4 separate regions of the Homo sapiens genome follow, and all the other regions are linked to region 1. Evidence: promoter capture Hi-C in 16 types of primary human blood cells and fetal thymus (Javierre and others, 2016). All regions are on one chromosome and are shown on one strand. Each heading gives the region's core, a stretch centred on a gene start or on the middle of the fragment in contact. The rest is flanking DNA. Distances are from core to core; before and after follow the strand shown. Region 1 holds the start of GNB3 (G protein subunit beta 3). Region 2 overlaps CHD4 (chromodomain helicase DNA binding protein 4). Region 3 overlaps C1S (complement C1s). Region 4 overlaps ZNF384 (zinc finger protein 384).

The links. Contacts are between HindIII fragments. The CHiCAGO score rates a contact against its expected background, and 5 or more counts as called.
Region 2: a fragment that was not itself captured here is called in contact with the fragment with the promoter of GNB3 in region 1 in 13 of 17 cell types (activated CD4 T cells, total CD4 T cells, non-activated CD4 T cells and 10 more); the score reaches 16.4 in activated CD4 T cells.
Region 3: a fragment that was not itself captured here is called in contact with the fragment with the promoter of GNB3 in region 1 in 1 of 17 cell types (activated CD4 T cells); the score reaches 7.1 in activated CD4 T cells.
Region 4: a fragment that was not itself captured here is called in contact with the fragment with the promoter of GNB3 in region 1 in 12 of 17 cell types (naive CD4 T cells, activated CD4 T cells, non-activated CD4 T cells and 9 more); the score reaches 14.8 in naive CD4 T cells.

What each region holds. Positions count from the first base shown.
Region 1 is chr12:6,837,371-6,843,463 of GRCh38, reverse strand. GNB3 (G protein subunit beta 3) reads right to left here and starts at 2,539. Exons shown (of 10, transcript NM_002075.4): 1 at 2,431-2,539; 2 at 2,120-2,206; 3 at 1,840-1,878; 4 at 388-494; 5 at 227-290; 6 at 1-101. The coding sequence starts at 2,176. It overlaps P3H3 (prolyl 3-hydroxylase 3), which reads right to left. Exons shown (of 15, transcript NM_014262.5): 11 at 5,891-6,041; 12 at 5,615-5,732; 13 at 5,431-5,506; 14 at 4,324-4,464; 15 at 3,617-4,167. The coding sequence ends at 4,003. The HindIII fragment of the contact is 12,557 bases long and covers 1-6,093 here.
Region 2 is chr12:6,599,252-6,605,344 of GRCh38, reverse strand. It overlaps CHD4 (chromodomain helicase DNA binding protein 4), which reads left to right. Exons shown (of 40, transcript NM_001273.5): 3 at 2,848-2,969; 4 at 3,170-3,385; 5 at 3,579-3,697; 6 at 3,815-4,056; 7 at 4,292-4,419; 8 at 4,676-4,811; 9 at 4,950-5,128; 10 at 5,333-5,572. Among named protein-coding and RNA genes, the nearest start is that of CHD4, 5.1 kb to the left of the region's middle. The HindIII fragment of the contact is 915 bases long and covers 3,307-4,221 here.
Region 3 is chr12:7,065,457-7,071,549 of GRCh38, reverse strand. C1S (complement C1s) reads right to left here. Exons shown (of 12, transcript NM_001734.5): 7 at 5,580-5,733; 8 at 4,917-5,032; 9 at 4,433-4,511; 10 at 3,779-3,907; 11 at 3,020-3,094; 12 at 518-1,695. The coding sequence ends at 899. Among named protein-coding and RNA genes, the nearest start is that of C1S, 7.8 kb to the right of the region's middle. The HindIII fragment of the contact is 335 bases long and covers 4,292-4,626 here.
Region 4 is chr12:6,665,558-6,671,650 of GRCh38, reverse strand. ZNF384 (zinc finger protein 384) reads left to right here. Exons shown (of 12, transcript NM_001385745.1): 10 at 813-891; 11 at 2,462-2,620; 12 at 3,536-5,174. The coding sequence ends at 3,937. Among named protein-coding and RNA genes, the nearest start is that of ING4, 5.5 kb to the right of the region's middle. The HindIII fragment of the contact is 755 bases long and covers 3,437-4,191 here.

The DNA of each region.
Region 1 (6,093 bases), core at 1,290-3,789:
ATGGAACACATGTTGTCCAGCCCCCCACATGCCACAAAGTTCCCTGATGGGGCATAGGCACAGGTCATGACCCAGGAGGAGCGCAGTGGGATGGCGTGCACCTGCAGGGAGGGTGGTTTGAGCAGAGATGGGACCGGAGCCAAGCTCCCAGCTGGGCACAGGAGGGTAGGCATGGCGCCCTTAGGAAGGATGCAGTGGTGGAGGCTCAGGGAGGCAGGGCTGGTACCTTGTTGGTGGTGTAGCTGTCCCACACGATCAGCTTCCCATCTTGCGAGGCACTTACCAGCAGCCTGGGGAGAGGGCATCCCATATCATGCAAGCCTCCCCTTCCCGCCTTCCTCACTCCCGCTCTCACCCTCCCATTCTCGGTTCCCCCCCAAGCCTCACTTAGAATCAGTGGCCCAGTGCATGGCGTAAATCTTGGCCAGGTGTCCCCTTAACGTCCGCCGCGTCCGCATCTGGACTCGTCCCACCACCTCTAGGCCAGACACCAGCTGCAGAGAGAGGGGCACTGAATATCAGGGTGAGCAGGTTACGTGCCCAGATGTCTGTCACTGCCACTGATCTATACAAGTTCCCGCTCTGTGCCAGGCTCTAGGTCAGGCCCCCAGCCTTAGAGAAATAAGTCTCTGCCCTGGAGTGTCTTAGACTGATGTGGGAAAGAGATGCATGCATGGCCAGAGGTGTGTTGCTTGTAAGTGTTTAACAAGCACCTCTCCAGTGTTGGTGAGGAAGGTGGGAAGGTGATTTCCACGATACGAATACTTGCACTTTGACCAGTTTCCAGCTGCCAATGTGAGGTCATTGGAAACAGATTTGGGAAGAGATGCACAGAGCTGGCTCTCCCAAGCCGAGAGGAGCCTGCTTGCACCCACCGCTGCAGCACGGCTAGCTTTTTAACTGGGTGCCTGGGGCATCACCATGACCCTGAACTGTACCTCCTGAAATCTGTGGTACTATGCCCCTTGAGCTCTAACCACATTTTAGACTTAGGCTGGGGGTCCAGAGTGAACAGACTTGATTTGCCATCACTTGCATTGCTATCTTTTTTTAAAAAGTTAAAAGCAATTTTTTTTATATTAAGAAGAGATCTCACTATGTTGCCCAGGCTGGTCTCAAACTCCTGAGCTCAAGTGATCCTTTCACGTCAGTCTCCCAAAGGGCTGGGATTACAGGCGTGAACCACTGCGCCCGGCCTGCTTTGTTATCTTGGGCAAGTTGCTTCACCTCCCTGAGTCTGTTTACTCAAGGTGTAAAATGAGGCTTATCATAGCACCTACCTTACAGAGATATCATGAAAATTCAATGAAATCAGGTATTTATGCAGCTTAGCCCAGTATCTGGCTCATAAAAAGTGTTCACTATTAACATATTTAATCCAATCTAAGATGCATCACTAAGAAAGAAAAGATGCTGTCAATTCTAATTGAAACAATGATCCATTGCTGAATGCACCTTGATTTCAGAGATGTCAAAATGTGAAGAAATGTGCATCTTAGAATTGACAAAATACAGCATAGAAAACTAGCAGCTAGAGTCTACAAGGGCTTTATAATTTACAAAGTACTATCGCTTCTTCATCTTCAAGGCCCTGGGAGGGGGCTGTGGTCACTCTTGTTCTACGGATGAGAATAGGAACCGTGTCCGCATCTTTCGCATCCAATATGGTGCCTGGCTCAGAGCAGGTCCCGCTAAAATGTTGGTCGAATGAATTAATTAATGGGTTTCCTCACTCCAAGGACGTGCTGTACTAATGCTCGGAGCAACGCGCTATTGCGGGTCGGGGAGCTCCCTTCCCCTCCCCCCATGCCCTGCCTTCCGGGGGACAGGGGGTCTTACCTCTGCCAGAGTAACGTCAGCACAGGCTTTCCTGGCATCCTGCAGGGAAAGCAGACATCAGGGGAGCAAGGGCGAGGTGGGGGTGGCAGGTGCATGGGCCTTCAGGGCAGGTTGGTCTTGGGGCTCTGGGGCTTGGGGGTCTCAAATATGCGAACCAAGTTTAGAAAGTCCCTGGTCACTTCTAGTCACTCAAGAGCAAACCCAGCCCCCTCCCCCTGGGCCACGCTCCTCATGTCCCCAGCTGTTTTCTGGGGCCCCAGGGGTAGGGCTCTGGAGTTACTGCAATCTGCTTCTTGAGCTGCTCCGCTTCCTGACGCAGTTGCTCCATCTCCCCCATGGCTGACAGGTCGAGGGGTCACTCTGGCTCCTGCCAGGAACATGGGGTCGGTGTTGAGGAACCCCCCACCAGGCTGTGCTTCTGCCCTTCGTGCCCACACCAGACTCCAAGACACAGGGAAACGACTGGGTGGCTGCACCCTCTCCCCAGCTAGGCCCTCCAAGTTTGAGGTCCTTTGCGTCCAGCCCCAGCCTGCCTGAGCCCTGCCTGCGCCCCAGCCCAGGAGAGCAGAGCCCAGGCCAGCTCCCTCTTACTTGGGCTCTGGCTGGACCTCGGCCGGGTTTCCAGCTCCGGTTCCTGGGAGCCTCCTTACTCCCTCAGCTGCGACGCCCGCGCCCGCCCGTCACCTGCCCAGGCTCTGCTGCCAGAGGAGCTGGCCTGGCCTGGCCTGGCCCCGACCGGCGGGGGGTTGGGGGGGCCTGACAGGGAAGGGTAGAGCCAACCACAACGTCAGGCAAATGAAATCAGCTGGCAGGGGTGGGGGGAAGGGGTGGGGGGAGGGAGGGAGGTGTACGGATTCCAGAGAGACTTGGGCCCAGCCGGGAGGAGGGTTGGGGGCAGGAGTGTGGGGCCATAGAGAGGGGCAGCCCCCACCACAAGCCCTGAGAGAGGAGGGGGTGAAGGGGTGCTTCCCTGGTCAGTCTCTGCAGGCAGAGATAAGAGCATCAGGCCCCACAGGATTAGAGCAAAGCTGTGAGGATTAAGGGTTGGGGTTTGGGAGGGGTGCAAAGGAGCAGACAACTACAGCTCCAGTGGCCCCCCTGGTCCCGGCCCCCATCCATGGTGATGATCTTGGCAGTCAGGGCCACTTAGCAACCAGGCCAGGAGGTGGGATATAAGGGTGATAGATGGCCCCATTGTCAGTACCTCAAACTGTGCTCCTCAGCTCAGGGTGGTGGGGAAGAGGGTTTGGTGAGTATGGGAGGGTACAGGCAGGAGCTGAGATTAGAAAGGACTGATCTGGATAATCCTTCTTCTCGACAAACCCCAACCAGCTGCCTCTGGGTCTGATCCTGTTGGGGGAGAAAGGTACAGGGGACCCACAGAGAAGGATGGACAGGTCTGCCCCTATTGTGGGCGGGCAACGGATTTCAAGTGGAGGGAAGGCCCGCACGCTGCTCCCAGGCTGGGGTCTGGCCCCCTCCTTGCCCTCTCGAGGCTGTGAAAGCAGGGGTCAGAGAGAAAGCAGGCGGCCCTAAGTCTCAGCAAAGCTCAGAGAGGGAAGACAGGGCTTACACTTGGAGGCCTAAGGAGCAGCTGCCAGGGGCTTGGGTCATTTGCATGAGGGGAGCAGGTGGCTGAGATTTCCCTGACAAATCACAGGCTCCAGGCGCCCCGCCTCTGGGAGGCCCAAAGACACCTGTCTCCTCCCAGGCCAGCCAGAGCCACCCCCACCTCCAGCCATCACAGAATCTGTGATACACTTGACTGGCCCCTGGCTGAGAGATCTTCACGACCTTTATTGCACAGACTGGGAGAGAGGAGCAGGGTTATACCTCCCAACCCCACCATCCTCTTCATTTAAAGCATCAGCCTCCTCCCCTGCCATTTCTGTTCAGGGAGGCACAGTGTTCCCCATCTGTCCAGGGCTGCAGGTCCGGCAGCGGGGCCCCGTCCCAGCTCCCCAGGCCTGGTGAGCTCCAGGCTAGCCTGTGCACTGTCCTCTGAGTCCAGGCCCTTGTAGGTCCCCAAGATGGTGGGGGTGCAGGGACAGAGAGCTTGCTGTTCTGCTCCTGATGTCACACAGGGGCTTCCTGTGTGTCCTGGCATCAAGATGGCCTTCCACAAGTCAAGTGGCCACATCCTCAAGGAGCTGGCTCAGCCACTCACAGCTCCTCCCGAACCCGAGGTGCCCTTCCAGTCTTGTCTTGGACCCTCTGGTGCCTGCGGCTAGGGGGCTCTGGGGAAGGGTCTTTGCTGGGCATTTCTTCCTCTTCCTCTTCCTCCTCCTCCTGTGACTCCTGCAGCAGTTCTTTGGCTTCTATCCACTCCTGGGGTTGGGGAGGAGAGTGTGGCCCATTCCCTGCACCCACCTTCCCTGGGTCAGCTCAGCCCCTGACCCTCACCGACTGTGAGCCTTCTCGGGGGCTCCTTGCCCACCCTTCACGCACCAGGAGAACCACATCCCTTCCTACCCCGCTCCTTACCTGCTCCCTGTGCTCAGGTGCCCACGTGTGCCACAGTGCCAGGGCACAGCGCCGTCCCCGAGTCACGGCCCACACCCCATGGGGATTCTCGACACCGGAGCTGAAGGCCACAAGGCGCCCACAGCGAGGACGCACCCGAGCCTGGAGGGATGAGGGCAGGTTCAGCTCCAGGGATTGGCTCTCTCAGAGAACTTGGCCCTCACTCCCTAGAGCAGGATGGGGACAGGGGCACAGAGAGGATCAGCTCTCTCGCTACCACTTCCTACTCCTTAATTCAGGGACTAGCTTGGGGCAAATGAGAAATCAGCTTCAACTTGCAGAGCAAAAATGCAAGAGGAGTTGGGAACCAAAGGAAAAAGGGGTCTCCACGGATGGTCTCCTGTTGGTTCCTGACCCCTGGTACCCTGATTTTTCCCACTCAGCCCTTTGAATCCAGGGCTTGAAGCAATCTGGGGCTGTGCATGCAGTACCAGACTCTATGCAGAAGGGGATACAGATATTGGAACCATTTTCACACCCCACACCCAGATGAACAATCACTGCCCCTCTCCTCCTACCCAATCCTAGCCCCTGGTGTCCGGAAATTTCCCACCTAACATTCATTAATTGCTTATCATTACCAGGCGCTGCCTCATTCTTTTAGGTACATTACCTAAATTACTTCCTACAATGACCCTTTAAAATACGTACTATTATTATCACCCCAGTCTAGGAAACTAAACCTCAGAAAGGTTCAGAATCCGAGCCCCAGTCAAGGCGGCCCTGGTATCTGTGCGCCAGCCACTGTGCTCACCTCGCTGCAAAGAGGAAGGACTATTTCAAGTTCCCCAAATCCCTAGAATAGGGCCATGGAGTCCTGGAGGCACCTGCAAGCTGTGCTTCATTCACCCTTCTTTAGGAGGCGAGACAAATACTGATGGTAGGGTTGATTCGGCCACTTAGAGACCTTGCTACGGAGGAAGCAGCGGGAGGGCTGCGGAGGCGGGGAAGTGAAAGGGTTAAAAGCCCTGGCCATTTCCCTGCATTTGCCTCTGGAGCCTTCTGTTTTGAATCCTGACCCCACAGCTGGGCCCTTTGTCACACCGTCACACCCCCCACTCCACGCACCGTGACAGTGAGGGCGTTGGGCTCCGTGAAGAACAGGTCCCCACCCTGGAAGTCATCGTTGAGGTAGAGGAGTCCGCTGGGGAGGGAAAAAAGCAAGAGGCAGTGAGACCCCAACCCAGGCCCAGGCCGGCAGTGGGATGACCTTTGTCTGCCCACCTGCCTGACCACTAGAGGGGCTGCCCACCTGTAGTCCCGATAGGTGTAGGCTGGGGGCTCCCGCCAGCACTCTCCCGTGTCAGGGTCCAGGACGCAGTTGTCTGCGTGCACTGGGTGACTCAGGTCCATGCGCTGCTCTTGCTCTCCTAGGACACAAAGGGGTCTGGGGGTACCTCTGTGCCCCTGTGCCCATCTGCCACCCTGTGGGCTCAGGCCGTGCACGTCCACCCCGGGGCTCTTGGGGGCAGTGTCCTGGGGGCAGGGCCTGAGGTTGGAGAAGAGCAGTGGGGGGTCCCTGTCGTACCTTCTATGGCGCTGCGGCACACCAGGTGGGTGAAGGACAGATGCAGGGGCCGTTCCGGGGAGAAGTAGGCCTGGGTCAAGGTCCGCACCCGCTCGCTCACCTCCAGAAGCAGCTTAGCACCCTGACTGCCCACTGTCCCAGCCCGGGCCAGCTGCAGGCAGTGAAAGGCAGGGCAGAAAAGGAGGAAGGCAAGGGGAGGGTGG
Region 2 (6,093 bases), core at 2,515-5,014, 240 kb after region 1:
CTAGCTGTGTCACCTACTCATCTCCTTGACCTTCATGTTTTCTAGTTTAATTTTTTTTTCTACATGTCATTTCTTCATTCCTTCTGCTTCTAGTTTTCTTCTCATTCTGGAGCCTGCTGATCCTGTTTTTGTTTCTCATCCAGCATCATTCACTTCTGCCTTCTCTCTTCTTAGCTTCAGTGGAAGTTGAGGTGGTCTGGGAGAGATGCTTTCACATTTGGCACTTTTTAAGTTGGAATTCTTCACTTCAACCTGAGGCCATTTAGGAGAGGGGTTAGTGTTGTCATGGAGTCTGGGCTGTTGGGATGAGAAACTTGGTTTCATCCTTGTGTAGAGTAGGGGGCAGATTTCCATGCCCTTGCCCAAGGTGAGGGCGGAGTTGTGGTGCTGGTAAGGGGACCCTGTCCTTCTGAGAGGGGCATGAGAAACAGTAGTGCTGCCTAAACATTCTGGGTTCCACGTCTTGGCCTCCCATTGGCCACTTGGGCTGGGGCTGCCTTTCATGTTGACCGGGAGCTGCGCAGGAGCTGTGAACTCTGTCCTGAGCTGTAGCATGACCCACTTTTTCCACTTGCCACACCCCATTCCTGTCCCTTTCCTAAATCTTCTCTATATCTCAGTAAGTTTGCGGTTTGCCATTTCAGCATATTATTTGCCTGAGAAGTTTGGGGGGCTCCATGTGCATGGAAGGATGTCCCCTTTGCCTCCATGGGTTGTCTTTGTCTCCACTTCCAGCTTTTATGGGGGTGGTGAGATGTAGCTGATGGGGGTTGGGGGTTGACTTGGGGATTGGTGGGGAAAAGTCCTTAAGAAAATGATTCTTTCTGGTGAAATCCAGGCTGATGTTGCATTCCCAAGGGGGAATGGGAGGGGCGTTCTTGTGCCTGGTCTTATTCTGGGCTGAGAAGCAGGGAGGCTGATGGTGCTTTGTCCAGCCTAATGTCTCATTCCCTAGTATCTGTCTAGCTCAGGAAGTGGGGAGCCAGAGACATTTTAGGGCTAATTTTGGGGGTTAAGAGCTAAGAACATGTCAGGGATTGAAGGAGGGATATTATTTTCTTTTTTATTTTTGAGATGGGGTCTCACTCTGTCGCCAAGGTTGGAGTGCAGTGTGCGATCTTGGCTCACTGCAACCTCCGCCTCCCGGGCTCAAGCGATTCTCCTGCCTCAGCCTCCTGAGTAGCTGGGATTACAGGCACCCACCACCATGCCTGGCTAATTTTTGTTTTTTTAGTAGAGACAGGGTTTCACCATGTTGGCCAAGCTGGTTTCGAACTGACCTCAAATGATCTGCCCGCCTCAGCCTCCCAGAGTGCTGCGATTACAGGCATGAGCCATTGCACCCGATTGGGATATTCTCTTCTACCACTGTCTAGGTCCTGCTCTGTTTTTTTGTGCAGACATTCCCATATGTTGGATAGGAATCTGGGTGGGAGTGGTGAGGAAGCTGAGCTTCAGAGACTTCTTGTGGGCCTCCATTCCTCAAACTAAATCTTTTGGGTATCAGAAATTTGGGGAGAAGGTTGTATGCGCTGACCACAAGTCCACTGAGCCTTTGTTAAATCTCAGCTCTGATGATTGAAAAAATAATTATGATTGAGGGAGTGATCGAGTTCTTCTCTTAGTATTACCTTCATGTTTGTCTCGCTTTCCTTGGGTTTCCTTGCTTAGGATGTTAGGGTGGGCTCTTGTGAACTGTTGTCATCCCAGAGTAGGTGGCATTTGGACCTGGGGCCAGGTAATTTGGGGAGGCTTCTATGAGGGCAGTCTCCCCCCCCGCCACCCCACCTCTCTCAAACCCACCCCCTCCCCTGCCACTTCCTGTCTGTCCTATGTTGGCAGCTGGGTGCCCTGGGCTGGCTTCTGCGGTCAGGAGCCATTTTCCCTCTCCTCAGTGGGTGAGGCACTCCCTTCTTCTCTCCACTCCTTTCTCTACCCACCCCCCTTTGGGCGGGGGTGGCTTGGGAAGAGGGAGAGAGGAGGGAGGAGGGAGTCGGAGCCAGTGTGAATGTCTGTTACAAAGGAAGCTGCCTCCTGGTCTTCTCTGTGTCCCTTCCCACCTATCCTTGCCCAGGAGCTTTCAGTCTTACCCAGGCTTTGTGTGTGCCTCCAGCCAGGGGAGGAGGTGGAGCCAGATGGGAGGAGGCTTGCTGGGGGGCGGGTGTAGGGGAGATGGTGACAGCTGGGCTGATTCGGGCCCCTAGGGAGAAGAGGCTGCTGACCCAGGAGAAGCTGAGGAGGAACATTAGGGTTGGAGATGGGGAAAGGAAATTGTATTTTAGAAGTGGGCATGAGATTGAGCTGGCACCTGAACCTAGGACTTGGAGGTTCTGGTTAATTTGAGCAGTGATGACTTCAAAGTGGTTAGAGAAGGGTGTGGTTTCCGAGACCCCTGAACTGATCCTGTTCTGGGAAGGTATATTCTATAGTTTTTGCCTTCTGAGTAGGATCTTTCATTCTCATTCCCTGGTTTATAGAATAACTTGGTGGCCAGTTACAGGAGGCCTAAATCTAGTTCTCTTACTTGGTGAACTCTGAGCAGCTCAGTTCAGCTGTACTGGTGAACATCTAGAGGACTGGTAGGAACGGGAGAGAGGAGGCAGGGGTCTGGACAGCTGCCCGAGGTGGGCCTGGTCTGGCCTGGCAGGCCTATTTCGGGTATATACAGCTCTCTCTTTGTCTGTTTTTGTCCTGGGTATCAGCTTCCTCCTGTACAGAGTATAGCAGTTCTCTTCAGAGGAATCTGGGACAAGAGGTGGGGAATAAAGTCTAAAGCCTCTGGATTAGGGCCTAACCTTTTGCTATTGATCTTTTCCCTGCCTACCACTCTTTGCCAAATATATGTAGAAAATGAAGAGGACCCAGAAGAGGATTTGTCAGAAACAGAGACTCCAAAGCTCAAGAAGAAGAAAAAGCCTAAGAAACCTCGGGACCCTAAAATCCCTAAGAGCAAGCGCCAAAAAAAGGAGGTGAGTGGGTGACTGAATGTTACGGGGAATCAGAGGAAGAAGGGAGGAGCTCTGAGAAGGGTTGAAGGGCTGAGGGCATTTGTTTCTTTCTCAGAAGTGGTGGGCCATGTTCTGGGGATGAGCCTCAGGGCTGTCCTGAGGTCAGCATGTGTGTAGCATGTGTGTGTCTGTCTCCCTCTTCCCCCCTTGCCCTGCTCCAGCGTATGCTCTTATGCCGGCAGCTGGGGGACAGCTCTGGGGAGGGGCCAGAGTTTGTGGAGGAGGAGGAAGAGGTGGCTCTGCGCTCAGACAGTGAGGGCAGCGACTATACTCCTGGCAAGAAGAAGAAGAAGAAGCTTGGACCTAAGAAAGAGAAGAAGAGCAAATCCAAGCGGAAGGAGGAGGAGGAGGAGGAGGATGATGATGATGATTCAAAGGTGCCTGGACCTCCATCCTCTTCTTTGTACTGTTAAACTTTTGTCTTTTTGTTTCCTAGACACCTTACTGCCCTTTAGAACACTTTCTCTTCTTTTCCTCTTAACTCTGTTACTCTGATTTTTCCACACAAATTTGCTTAGCAAGTGTGGGCACTAGGTGGCAGGTACTTACTTGACTTTGCTCTTTCTGCAGGAGCCTAAATCATCTGCTCAGCTCCTGGAAGACTGGGGCATGGAAGACATTGACCACGTGTTCTCAGAGGAGGATTATCGAACCCTCACCAACTACAAGGCCTTCAGCCAGTTTGTCAGGTAAAACAGAAGGGGTTTGGGGAAGGGGGAGGAGAATCTTTCTGTTCTCTCTTCTTACTTCTCTTTCTTTTTTTATTCTTAAACCTTTCCCTCTGCTCTTGTGCATTTCTCCACCAGACCCCTCATTGCTGCCAAAAATCCCAAGATTGCTGTCTCCAAGATGATGATGGTTTTGGGTGCAAAATGGCGGGAGTTCAGTACCAATAACCCCTTCAAAGGCAGTTCTGGGGCATCAGTGGCAGCTGCGGCAGCAGCAGCGGTAGCTGTGGTGGAGAGCATGGTGACAGCCACTGAGGTTGCACCACCACCTCCCCCTGTGGAGGTGCCTATCCGCAAGGCCAAGACCAAGGAGGGCAAAGGTGAAATGGGGTTCAAATGGGAGTGGGGGTGTCTAGTGTGGGCTTAAGATGTCAAAGACAGCATGGGAATGCTGGTCTGTCAGCCCTAAGGTAGGAGATAGGAGGGAGGAATGAGTCTTGGATTTTGGAGGGAAATTTGGGAATCTGAATGTGGGGAAGCAAGCTTAGGTGGAGAAGATTTTATTTTCCCCATCTTTGGTCTTGTGGTATATATTTGGATATATCCTGATTTTAGGTCCCAATGCTCGGAGGAAGCCCAAGGGCAGCCCTCGTGTACCTGATGCCAAGAAGCCTAAACCCAAGAAAGTAGCTCCCCTGAAAATCAAGCTGGGAGGTTTTGGTTCCAAGCGTAAGAGATCCTCGGTGAGAGCCCAGCCCATCGCTTTAGGGAGGGTGCCATGTCTAATAGAAAGGATGTGACCTTCTATCAGAACCTGTCCTTCATAGTAGGCACGTAAGAATGTGGGGCGTTTCCCACAGAACAAGATGAGACTAGGCTCCCTGTATAACGGTGCTTGCTGGGATTCTGGTGTCCCCAGTGAGAGAGTACTCCCCTCTCTGCCACTCTGTCCTTCCCCTTGGCTTGAACGTCTAACCTTATTCTTTTTCATCCTGCCAGAGTGAGGATGATGACTTAGATGTGGAATCTGACTTCGATGATGCCAGTATCAATAGCTATTCTGTTTCTGATGGTTCCACCAGCCGTAGTAGCCGCAGCCGCAAGAAACTCCGAACCACTAAAAAGAAAAAGAAAGGTGTGTTTCTCTTCTGTATATTTGTGATGGGATGAGGTGGGAGTGATTGGGGAAGAATCTCCCTAAGGAGATAGGGGTCGGGGGGTGGGGGGAGGTAGTTTTTTTCCAATAACTGGGCTTTCCCTCTTCCTTGCCCAGGCGAGGAGGAGGTGACTGCTGTGGATGGTTATGAGACAGACCACCAGGACTATTGCGAGGTGTGCCAGCAAGGCGGTGAGATCATCCTGTGTGATACCTGTCCCCGTGCTTACCACATGGTCTGCCTGGATCCCGACATGGAGAAGGCTCCCGAGGGCAAGTGGAGCTGCCCACACTGCGTGAGTGTCTGGCCATTGTGGCCCCTTGGAACCCATGAGAAGAAGGGTGGGACAGTAAAGCTCTTCGGGGCCTGGATGGAAATGGAAATGCTGGTGCTGCGGGTTGTGAGCTTTGGGAAGCATTCAAAGGAATGATGGGCACTGGCTTCAGACTGCGGTGGGCGGGTGGGGGTAATAATCTGAATCTGTGGTCCTTTACTGCAGGAGAAGGAAGGCATCCAGTGGGAAGCTAAAGAGGACAATTCGGAGGGTGAGGAGATCCTGGAAGAGGTTGGGGGAGACCTCGAAGAGGAGGATGACCACCATATGGAATTCTGTCGGGTCTGCAAGGATGGTGGGGAACTGCTCTGCTGTGATACCTGTCCTTCTTCCTACCACATCCACTGCCTGAATCCCCCACTTCCAGAGATCCCCAACGGTGAATGGCTCTGTCCCCGTTGTACGGTGAGTGACTGATCTCAGCCGGGGCAAAAAATGGGAAAGTGTAGTCTTTTCTATGTAGGCTATTGTGAGGCTGGGGTGCAGGAGAGGAACTATGAGCTTTTCAGCCCTGAGAAAGGTATTCTCCTTCATCCTATAGTGTTGGGATACTTTTGTCCTGGGAAAATATAGGACTAACTTCAAACTGAGGAGTTGATGTTTTGCCAGCTCTCTTAAGAGGAGATGAAGCAATGTTCTTCTAGCTGAGAACATTTGTCCCTGTGTTGACACCCTGCCTCAGGGTCTTGGTAGCTTACAATGTTTTCAATTTTTTTGTTAAAAAAATTTTTTTTTTTGGAGACAGGGTCTCATTCTGTCATCCGGGCTAGAGTGCAGTGGTGCAGTCATAGCTCATTGCAGCCTCCAACTCTTGGGCTCAAGTGATCCTCCTATCTCAACCTCTTGCTGAGTAGCTAGGAGTACTGGTGCATGCCACCACATCCAGCTAATTAAAAAAAAAAAATCTCTGTTGAGACAGGGTCTCA
Region 3 (6,093 bases), core at 3,210-5,709, 230 kb before region 1:
AAGCGATCCTCCCAACTCAGCCTCCTGAGTAGCTGGGACTAAGGCACGCACCATCATGCCTAGCTAATTTTTATTTTTTATTTTTGTAGAGACAGGGTCTCCCTATGTTGCTCACACTGGTCTTGAATCCCTGGGCTCAAGCAATCCTCCCACCCCTGCCTCCCAAAGTGTTGGGATCACAGGTGTGAGCCACGCACCACATGACATTTAATGAGCTTCTTTTTTTTCTTATTTTTCTTTTCTTCTTTTTTTTTTTTTTTTTTTTTTGGCCAGGTAAATATTAATGAGTTTCAAAAGCAGAATGTGATGCCTTACACTGGCGATCTTCATACTAACCCACAATATTCAGTAAATCTCATTTGGAAGAGAGAAGAAAAGCTGAATTCCCTGTTTTCGTGACAATTAAATTAAATATTAGTTGCTGGATGCCCAATTTCAGTGACATAACAGCCTTCTCATCCCATTCCCCTTCTATAATTCTGAGGGTTTGGTGTGGAATGAGGTAAGTCACACAAAATTTGCTTATAAACATCCTTTATTGTACATAGACAGTGGATACTGAGAATGATCAAGTAAATGGAATTTTGAACAGGTAAAGAGGAAACAAAGAATTAAGGTATCCCTGTGGAATAGTGCAAGAAAGGAGTGCCCCACCCATAGTGTTATCTACAATAGGTACTCCGGGGAAAGGACCCCAAGGAGTCAGACCACAAATGTATGACCAGCACAATTCTATGATCAAACTCTACCTCTAGCAAGGCGTCTCAACAATCAAGTTCTATTTAAATCATTCGCTCGTGTCTTCTTTCAGTCATGATGAAATAATGAGAATATCATAAGGAACAGAAGGTAATGCATTGGTCACCACCCTTGGAGAGGCTGGTGGGATGTATCTGGATTAGTCCTCACGGGGGGTGCTATTTTCCTGCATAGTCTTCATTATCCAGTCAACATAGTTCTTTACCCGTGTGTAGAGCCCATAGGTCCCACACTGGGGCCCCCAGGACACCAGGCCAGCTGCGTAGAATTTGGTCTTGTCATTGGGATCCTGTACAGCAAAGGCCCCACCACTGTCCCCTTTACAGCTATCCATGCCCTTCTCTCCTCCAGCACAGATCATGTTAGGAGTGAAAACATAGGCCTCTGCATCTGCTGTGGGTTTCTCCACTTTCACTTCTTTGCATTTTCTTAAAGGAGCTACAGGTAACCTTGCCGCCTTGAGGCGAACAGCACGATCTCTCTTCTCTGTTCGGCCCCAGCCTGAGATCAGTCCCAGGTCCCCATCCATGAGGTTGTAGTCGGAAGAGGTGCCTGGTAGGCAGATGGGAGAGACGGTGGGTCCCATTTTCACTGGGTCTTTCAGCCGCACCAGTGCAATGTCATTATCAAAATTGGTTCGTCCTTCTGGGACTTCCAGCAGCTTCCATCCCGGATGAATAAACACATGCTCAGGAGTGAGCATCTTGGATTTTGCCAGCCGTGAGGTCTGCACTGAGGTGGACCCAACATACATTGTTGGCTCCCTGTTTCCCTCCACAACATGAGCAGCCGTCAGCACCCAGTACTCATTAATGAGCGCTCCACCAGCCCATGGGTTGTCAAAGAAGACTTGCCAGGGGAAGTTTTTAATATCTGCATCGGATCCTCCAATTATCCTCTGTTTTTCTTCAAAGGGTTCTCTGGGGACTCCACAGACTAGGAAGGAATAAAACAACACAGGGAAGGAGGAAGAAATGATGCTGGCTTCCTGCAAATCCTCCAACCACTCACATAATGTTACCTGCTAGGTTGCAGGATTCTCTAGTACAAAATAGTCAACCCTATTTGGTCAACAATCTCAATACCTGACCCACTCTGGCCTTACCTAAACATCCCGCTTTGCCGATGTCATAAGCTGGCTCATGGGAGAGCTCAGTTAAACGGAGGCAGTGTGTGAATCACTGAGTCCAGATGCACTAATGCCTCACACTATCCACAGTGCGACCCACAGCCCCCCTGGAGGCAGGGGTCCCCTTTGCACCTCCCAACTCGGCACATGAGGCCGGTGCCCAATCAAGAGCCAGTGCTGGAAACCCTTTTCTCACACAGATGGTGGAGGAGGAAAGATTTCTGCCTTCTTCAGATGCCCAGATCAAACTTTAATCACCTTCTTTACTGGAGTCCTAGTTGCACCTGAGTCCCTCCTAGTAAACCACAGGTCAGCCTAGGAAGTAGAGAGGGGTCCCTTCTTTGGCCCTGACCTCTCACTCCCAGTGACTGGTGCCATTACCATTCAGTTATACTAATAACTGAATTCAAGTGAAGCTGCTTACTTAAATCCCTTACTAGACAGCCTGGAGGGACTCCAAGTTGAGCACAATGGGCTGTGAACTTAGACAGACCTGGGCTCAAAGCCTGCCTTTGCCACTTGCTAACTCTGTGAACTTGCACCCCACCCATTCACATTTGACATTGGTCAGATAAGACCAATGACACCTAGCTCACAGGGCTGTTATACGGACACGAATGAGATAATAAATGCAACAAATCAGCTCAGTCTTCAGCTTTCAGTACCACCCAGGATGGTTATTATCCTATTGGATTTGCCTCAGCCTTCTGCTACCCAACTCTTATCTTCCTCATTCTTTGAATTCCTCTATATCTTGCTGCCCTATAAACTTTTAATATAATAACTAGGCTATTTAGCTAGACTTGTTTCTGAGTGTTGATTACTCACACACTCTCAGCTTTCAGGCCCTGTTTTTAGCAGTTCTGTATCTTCTCACTGCAGCTACATTACCAGACACCAACTGTCGCTGGCTGACGTTTCTATTTCCTTCCAGTTGGCCTGGCTTCAGTGCGGCTGAGGAGGTTCCCCACGGCCCTGGCAGCCCACGGCACAGTGATACTGCCACCTCACTGAGCTGGACTCTGGCAGGTCACTGTTCAGTCCTTTCCCAAGAGGATTACAGTTGCTTTCAGAAGGTGACTCCCAGTCACCCATGGCTATCATCTCTCCCCAAGCCTCAGCCCTCCTTACCTGGAACACATTTCGGCAGCTCCGGGCCCAGCACCTCATTCACCCAGCTCCCGTTACCAGCACAGTGATACTCCCCTGGAATAGCACAGAGAACACAGGCCACACTCACCACCACATCTTCCTTCTTCCATTCCCCCCTCCGACCCCAACACCCTGCCCCGTTCCTTCAGAACCTCAGCTCGTCTAGGATTCAAGTAGTAAATCAGATTAAATCAGCCAGAAAAAAAATATCTTCCTCCAAACAATCCCTCAGGCCTCTAGCCTGCCAGGGAGACAAAGGGAACATCTCCAAAGCAGAAGGAAAGAAGGCATCGGGAAAGTGGCGAAATAAATACAGAGCAATGCAGAGAACGTATTAGGGTCTCATTCAGCCCTGCACCTAGCATGACCAAAGCCTCTACATCAAGAAAGCCAGTCAGTGTAGTTTGGTGGCTTAAAGCTGAAGGCATTGCTCCTGTGGGTTTTACATGAAATAACTGGTCAAAAGGTGGGTAATCCCATGAAATGGATGTTGTAGGGGAATTCCTGCTGCAGCTGTGAACTCAGTTGGTGACCTCTATGATTCCCTGAGGCTGATGCTCCCCTGAACTTGCCCTGCTCCAGATGAAAACTGTATCTTTGGACGAAGCCAAGGGGATGAACAATGTCTGTCCTATCGCCTTCATTTGTCTCCAAACTCTGTCTCTGGCACAGATTATGCTATCCACCCTCCAACACCTTCTCACTCTCTCTCTCTCTTCTCCAGTAGAAGAAACCTACCACCTCCTCCATTTTCCATGTAGTAATATGGCTCCTCACAAGTGTAGCGGATGACAGAACCAAACAAAGTGCTCTCTGGGTCTTCAACTTTACCATTCTCAATGGATTCAGGAATGCCACAGTCCACAGCTACCAGACGAAGGAAGGAGAGCGATGGTCAGGACAGCCACTTCCTCCAAGGAAGAGTCATGGGGCCAGGTTCATCCTCACTGCTTCCCCACCCCATATCCACAGGCACACCTGGGATGAACCTCCCCACACCAGCCTCTCTGTGGCCATCCTCCCCAACTGGCATCTCTCAGCTCTCTCACCCGCTGAGATGCCAATTCAGATGGCCCCATGAAAGCCGTAGTGAAGAGCCTGGTTCTCAGTGGTTGGTGAAGGCCCAGTGGAAGCCACAAATGCACCCACGTGGGGCTACTAACTCGACCTATCCCATAGCCCCTTTCTTGGAAAGAAACATGCCGATCTAGTTGGCCTGGGACCAGATGCGGGGCTGGGACTAGAAAAGCTTCCATGACTGGCTTCCCTTCAAAAACCCAACCCACTCCCTCACATGCCTAAGAGGAAACCATGCATTTGAATTTTGATGTGCTGATCTTTCCATTCTCTCTGAGAGAAAAAGAAAGACTTCCACTTTGAAGAGACACATACGTTGACATTTCAGTTTGGAATTACTCCACTTTCCATTGCTTTGACAAGTCGAATAGAAAGATGTTGCACCAACACGTCCCTGGAGAATAATAAACATCACCACTTATTTCTGAAGAGAGATATGGGAAACCAAAATCAAAACTGGAATTGATCTCTGGCCTTGGATCAATGAGGAGTCCTCACCACAAGAAGCTTGGGAACATCTTAGCAGACCTAAAGCACCCAGGAGATGAGGCTGACAGAAAGCTTTGCCCCAACGTGTCAACTCCCCTTCCTCAAGAAGACTGAAGGCAGAGAGAATGCCAAGCTGGCCAGGCAGCTCCATGACTCACAAGGGAGAACTACAGATCTTAAGCTGTTGTGTTTATGGGAAAGGTGTTATACCTTGATCACACACATACATTGGGTAAACAACTGGACAATTTCAGTCCGCTCATCCTGATCTGGGGCCAGGGACTGGGGAGAAGCCAAGGTGGTACTTTACCTCCACAACTTCAAACCCATCCAGACAGGTTATCTGCACCACATCTCTAAAGACATATTTTGCCTTCGCAGGCTCCCAAACAGAATTGGGAGTGTCTTCCTTAGGGCAGGGCATTGCTTGAAAGAACAGAAGTTGGGACAGGAGGAAAAAATTACTAAATAGTTGAAGACTCTCATTCTATTTACATCATTCTCACACTTTCTAAAATCGTCCAGTTGTCCTCAATCCTGATGCTTAACATTCCAATACAGCAGATGTCTAAAATCATATGGCATTACCAACTAACCACCCGCAAGCTGTCTGCAGTCTCAGGTCTAGTTAAAGGATTACTAGAGGTTGAGGCATTTCTAGCAACCGTTGACTGGTTTAGATTTTCCTGAAGAAGTGAAGTATCTCAGGATTCTATCAGAACAACAATCTATCTGTTTTTTAAATTATTGTTGCTTTGTTTTTGTTTTGTTTTAGAGACAAGGTTTTGCTCTGTTGCCCAGAGTGGACTCAAACTCCTACTTCCTGGGCTCAAGGGATCCTCCTGCCTCAGCCTCCCTCGGTAGCTGAGATCACAGGTGCTTCCAGTGTGCCTGGATCATCTACCTGCTTTGATCCCACATTGTTTGGGGACTTTGGTATCACCAACCAAAGAGGCACTTCTAAGTTACTCACGATCTCCATGATAGCGAAGTTTCCAGCCCTTTTTTTGCCCTGTTAGATCAGTTTGGAAGATGATATCAAGAGCATTACTCTTGGTTTCAATATTTAGAGGCCCAGGGAATCCATGACCACAGTAAGGACCAAATTGCCGATCTCCTGCAACAAACTGAACAAAATGATGAAATCAGAAGAGGGAAAGAACTAAAGGGAAGAGGTAAAATTGGGAAGTGGGAGATACAAATAAAAGAGGCATTAAATGTCACATAAAATAAGAAGAAAATAAGGGTCAGGAGAAAAGATAATTTTATCTTCAGGCTGAGTGCAGTGGCTCACACCTATAATCCCAGCACTTTGGGAGGCCGAGGTGGGAGCATTGCTTGAGGCTAGGAGTTTCAGGCTATCCTGAGCAACATAGCAAAACCCCATCTCTGTAAAAAAAAAAAGAATAACAATAAAAATATTAGCTGGGTTTGATGACACACGTCTGTGGGCCCAGCTACTCAGGAGGCTGAGGTGGGACGCTTGC
Region 4 (6,093 bases), core at 2,565-5,064, 170 kb after region 1:
TTCTTGTGGATGTGATGATCTCACCTTAAAGTGATCAGACATCTTGCTTTGAGAAGAGGAGGAGTCAGGCTTTCCTCACAAATAAGAGACACGTCCTGTGATGTTTTTGAGATTTTATACCAGAGGTCCCGAAAAGCACCTGGTCATAGAGATGGTTCTGAAGTCGCTGATGAGGAGCAGGTGTCACTGCACCCTCAAGTCCTTGGCTCATCTTAGCAGAGGGCCCTGTGGTGTTGGGGAGAGAGGTCACATTGGTACTAAACTAGGCATTTCCTGTCATTAGGGGGCTGGGCTGCAAAAAGCACTTAGTTTTCATGAGTTTCCATTAATATCACTACTACTCTCCACAATCAGTGTAACTGCTTTTCTTTGTTACCATAACATTCTCTGGAAGTGATGCTCAAGGCTGAGGGGACTGTTTCTGGCCATAAGGTGGGGCCAAGGAAGACGCGTTCTGCTTTTCTTTTTCCTTGCCATTGTGTTTATCTTGTGTTCTTGAATGTTCGTTAGGACAGTTACTGTAGGAGCTGACTTGAATGCCAAATTGTGGGCTGCCTGTTCCTTGGGTGCCAAGTCCTCAGTCTCTCCTCCCCCAGCAGAGAGGAGCCTCAGCTTGAGCTGAGTGATGCAGGCATTGACCAGAAGCAAATCATCAGTACCTGATCCACATCAGAGAGGAAGGCTGGTGCCTCTTGGAGGCCCATCTGATGTGCCTCCTTAGGAGAGCAGGATGGGCCTGGAGAAGATTTGTTGAGCCAGTTCCTAAATGGTCTTGCTGACATTCTTTCCCTTTTTTCTCTTATCCTGTGCAGAATCCACACTGGTGATAGACCATACAAATGTGCACACCCAGGCTGTGAGAAAGCCTTCACACAACTCTCCAATCTGCAGGTAAATGTTCCACCCTCCACACAAGACCTTGAGTCTGAGACATGGGGCCATTTGAATAGTATCGTGGTTCTCAAATGTTTTCAGGACTCCTTTACACTCAAACATTATTGAGGGACCCAAAGAGTTTTTGTTTATGTGGGTAATAGCTGTCTACATAGACGTTGTAAAACTGAAAAACCTGAAAAATATTTATAATAGTAATCTGTTTAGAAAGAACAAAAATAAACCCATTGTGTGTTAACATAAATAACATATTCCAAGACCCTCCAAAAACAACTGAGTGAGAAGAATGGCATTATTATACATTTTTGCAGGTGTCTATTTTTTATTTTTGGGACAGGACCTTGCTCTGTCACCCAGGCTGAGTGCAGTGGTGTTATCATGGCCCACTGCAGCCTCAGCCTCCCGGTCTCAAGTGATCCTTCCACCTCAGCCTCCCAAGTAGCTGGGATTCTAGGCATGCACCATCACACCTGGCTGTTTTTTTCATTTTCGTAGAGATGGGGTCTTGCTATCTTCCCTAGGCTGGTCTCGAACTCCTGGACACAGGCCATCCTCCCGCCTCAGCCTCCCCAAAGTGCTAGGATTGCAAGCATGAGTCACCGCACCTGGCACAGGGGTCTTTAATGTCTTAAGCTAGAAGATGAGTAGATTCTCAGATCTGCTGCATCTGGCCTATTGTGTTATCACACATCATGTAACCTCTGTAAGGGTTACATGTAAAACATAAGGCACAATGAAGCCACTTGAAATTTTGAGGGGAACAAGATTTCAGTTAGGTTTTTCATCTTTGTGTTTGTGTGTGTGTGTGTGTGTGCGCGCGCGCGTGTGCGTGTTTGAGACAGAGGCTCGCTGGGTCACCTAGGCTGGAGTGCAGTGGTGTGATTTCAGCTTACTGCAACTTCCCAGGTTCAAGAGAGACAAAGGCAAACATTGTCTTATTATTTTGAAAAGATTTGGCTGGGCGCGGTGGCTCACACCTGTAATCTCAGCACTTTGGGCGGCGGAGGCGGGCGGATCACCTGAGCTCAGGAGTTGGAAACCAGCCTGGCCAACACGGTGAAACCTTGTCTCTACTAAAAATACAAAAAAAATTAGCCAGGCCTGGTGGCATGTGCCTGTAGTCCCAGCTACTTGCAGGCTGAGGCAGGAGAATCGCTTGAACCCGGGAAGCGGAGGTTGCAATGAGCCGAGATTGTGCCGCTGCACTCCAACCTGAGCGACAGAGTGAGAGACTTCATCTGGGAAAAAAAAAAAAAAAGAGTTTTGACCCTGTGGGCCCCCTGTGAAGGTCTTAGTGTTCCCTAAAGATCCCCATGCCTCATTTTAAGAACCACTGGACTGGTGAGACGGGCATAAGCTGTCTTGGGATCCTGGTATGTGCTACATGAGGTATGCTTCCACCCTTAGCCTGTAGCTTCTCAAGTTTCATTTGAAACAATTTCTACTTTCTTCAGATAGAGGGAGAAGCTGGGAGGCCTGACACCTACCTTTTTGCTTTCCATCGAGGTCAAGGGGGCAGGAGGAAAGAGTACAATGTATTCATTCTGGTTTCTCCCAATTTTCTCAGTCCCACAGACGGCAACACAACAAAGATAAACCCTTCAAGTGCCACAACTGTCATCGGGCGTACACGGATGCAGCCTCACTAGAGGTGCACCTGTCTACGCACACAGTGAAGCATGCCAAGGTGTACACCTGCACTATCTGCAGTCGGGCATACACATCAGTGAGTGCTCCGTTTCTTCTCTCCTTCCTCATAGTCCTCTAAGAGTACAGTCCACTTCACCCCATTTTCTGGGTAGAGATCTGTTGCAGTGAATACCCTGCCTCCCTAGCTCCAACTTAGCAGAACAGGTAAATATTCAGAAATTAATTAGACCCATTCTGAGGAATTTAGGGGATGCCTGATCTCCTAATCCTATAGAGACGCATAAGCTGTAATTCTTCATTTTACTTAAACATAAGGCAAAATAAAGCCACTTGAAATTTTGAGGGGAGCTGGATTTCAGTTAGGCATTTTCTTCTTCTTTTTTTTTTTTTTTTCTTTTTGAGACACAGTCTCGCCCTGTCACCCAGGCTGGAGTGCAGTGGTGTGATCTCGGCTCGGCTCACTGTAACCTCCACCTCCTGGGTTCAAGCGATTCTCCTGCCTCAGCCTCCCAAGTAGGTGGGATTACAGGTGCATGTTGCCATGCCCAGCAACTTTTTGTATTTTTAGTAGACATGGGGTTTCACCATGTTGCCCAGGCTGGTCTCAAACTCCTGACCTCAAGTGATCCACCTACCTCAGCCTCCCAAAGTACTGGGATTACAGGTGTGAGCCACCGCACCTGGCCCAGTTAGATATTTTCCATGAGACTCCAGAAAAGGTTGTAAAGTTGTTTCATTCAGGGGTCTTTGAAAAAAATAGCAGCTCATTCCTTTGCCAGTTGAATGTTGAGTGACTTCTAAAGGTTCCTCTCTTTTTTTTCTCAGTAGTGAGCCACTGAAAGTGCTACTTGAGTTTTGCTCAGTCTTGGCTCCAGAAAACCAGTATAAAGCTTACTCTGCTTACAGCAGAATCAGAGCCTGGGGTGCTAGTTACAAGTAATCTCTTTTCCTTCCTCTTTATCCCTCAACTTCTTTTTACCATCTCCCTCAGGAAACATACCTTATGAAACATATGCGCAAACACAACCCGCCTGATCTTCAGCAACAGGTGCAGGCAGCAGCAGCAGCGGCAGCAGTGGCCCAGGCCCAGGCTCAAGCTCAAGCCCAGGCTCAGGCTCAGGCTCAAGCCCAGGCCCAGGCCCAGGCCTCCCAGGCATCACAGCAGCAGCAGCAGCAGCAGCAGCAGCAGCAGCAGCAGCAGCAACAGCCACCACCACACTTCCAGTCTCCTGGGGCAGCCCCCCAGGGTGGGGGTGGTGGGGACAGCAATCCCAACCCTCCACCCCAGTGTTCCTTTGACCTGACCCCGTATAAGACGGCGGAGCATCATAAGGACATCTGCCTCACTGTCACCACCAGCACCATCCAGGTGGAGCACCTGGCCAGCTCTTAGAGATCCGTGCTGCCACCCACTGGGAAGAGGAAGAAGTAGTCCTGGTGTCTTCTTTCTCCAACTCTTGGTGGGAAAAGTCCTTTTCTTCCTTGACAGGCCTTGGCTCCATCTCCTTGGGCCTCTGTCACGGCTTTCCTTCACAGGATACCATCCTTTTTCTGAACTCTTCTTCAAAAGGAACATCAGCCCTCCTGATTGCAAAGGAATACTGAGCTGATGGTGTCATCCAGCAGCCTCCCCTCCCAAGCAAAGCTTCTAAAACTGGGGGTCGGTGCTCAAGGGAAGGATTTGCTATGACCTCATAGAACCTTGTCCAGTGTGGCCACTTACCCTATCCTTACCCTCCTTATCCTCAAAGTTTGGGCTGATGTAAGACTAGAGGCTGGCCCTCCCAGATAACAGAGAAAAGGGAGCCCCAAATGCAACCAGCCTCTTGTTCTATTCTTGCCTGCAAAAGAACAGAGGTTTCTCAAATGCCTCAGTCCCTGAGAGCCATTTCTTCCCCTACATCGTCTCACTTTGCTTCCTATTGACTGCTGGTAGAAGGAGATTTGGGGTAGGGGCTAGACCTCCTTTTATTTGAAGGGGGCAAGGGCTGAGATGTGGTCCCCAAGGGGCCAGAAATTCCCAAGTTGGTCACAGGTGGCTTAGAAGTGTGTGTTATGGTTTTACGGATTTCCTTGAAGCCTCTCTCCTTCTCTGCCTACAAAGACCCTATACTCTCAGTCTCCCCAACCCACCCCCAAGGAGCTGTGGGAGGCTTTGTGTTATCTGTGAAACTCCAAAACAGGGGTGTTGCGGAGAAGGGAGAGTTCAAGGCAAACGCAAGGACTGGACTTAGCTCCCTAGGTGCCACAGTCAGATGCCGGACACGGATTTATATATAAATATATATATATAAATATATTATACTCACTCATCACGGCCATCTTTGTTGTAACCATTTCTGTGTTTATAAATGCATTATCTCTGAGAATTTTCATATTTGATGTTTTGTTTATTTTTGTCCTTTTTTTCCCTCTCTCCACCCCTGTCCTCTAGCCACAGCATTTTTCTTTTTGTCTTTTTTTTTTTTTTTTAAATCATGGCAGATTTCAGAGGAAAGGAAATTAAAAAAAAAATCAGGAAACCAGTTGTTATAAAGTAATTTAAAAATGAAGAAAAAAAGAAAAAAACTTATGTACAAACCAAGGGGTGTTTTTAGAACATTGTATAGAAATAAATTCATGTAAAAGGATCAGAGGCAGTGGAGCTACTGATGTGAGCGAGCATGCGGAAAAGGTATTTGGGGAGATGTCCAAGAACAGTACTGAGGATTTATACCAGAGTGTGTGTGTGATGAACAAGTGCTTGTGTGATGATGCCCCATTTGTGCAATTCTCCAGTCATGGAAGGGTACAGTTTCATGATGTCTCCAGTGAAATCCTGGTTTATGAGGACTTCTACATACACATTCTGTCATGGGGATTGCATTGCCTAAATATGTGAGAGCAAGGCTTTGGTTATGTGTTAACAAAACAGCTAAGCTCCCTATGGAAGAAAAATGGAAGCCTCTTGAAAGGACCTACACTCCTGCCTGAGTCTGTGGAAGAGGGGCTTGCAGTTGGCAATGTGTATACATATGTGTATTTGTTACCTTGTGGAAATCATAACCGGTTAAGGGGTGCAAGATTGATTTATGCAGGAGAGCTGTAGTACTATGGAGTAGAATGTGGTCATGAAACCTGGACTTCAGCCCTTTGCCTACCATCAACCAGTGTTGGCCAGGGTGCTTCTTCAACTGTTAGTGAAGGGATTGGACTAGATAACTCTGAAGATACCTTTTTTGAGAATTAAGTAACTTGCTTTAAGGCTGGGTGCGGTGGCTCACGCCTGTAATCCCAGCATTTTGGGAGGGCGAGGCAGGCAGACTACTTGACGTCAGGAGTTCAAGACCAGCCTGGCCAACATGGTGAAACCCCATCTCTACTAAAAATACAAAAATTGATGGCCGTGCACGGTGGCTCACGCCTGTAATCCCAGCACTTTGGGAGGCCGAGACAGGTGAATCATGAGGTTAGGAGCTCGAGACCAGCCTGGCCAGTATGGTGAAACCCCGTCTCTACTGAAAATACAAAAAATAAGCTAGGCATAGTGGTGGGCGCCTGCAATCCCAG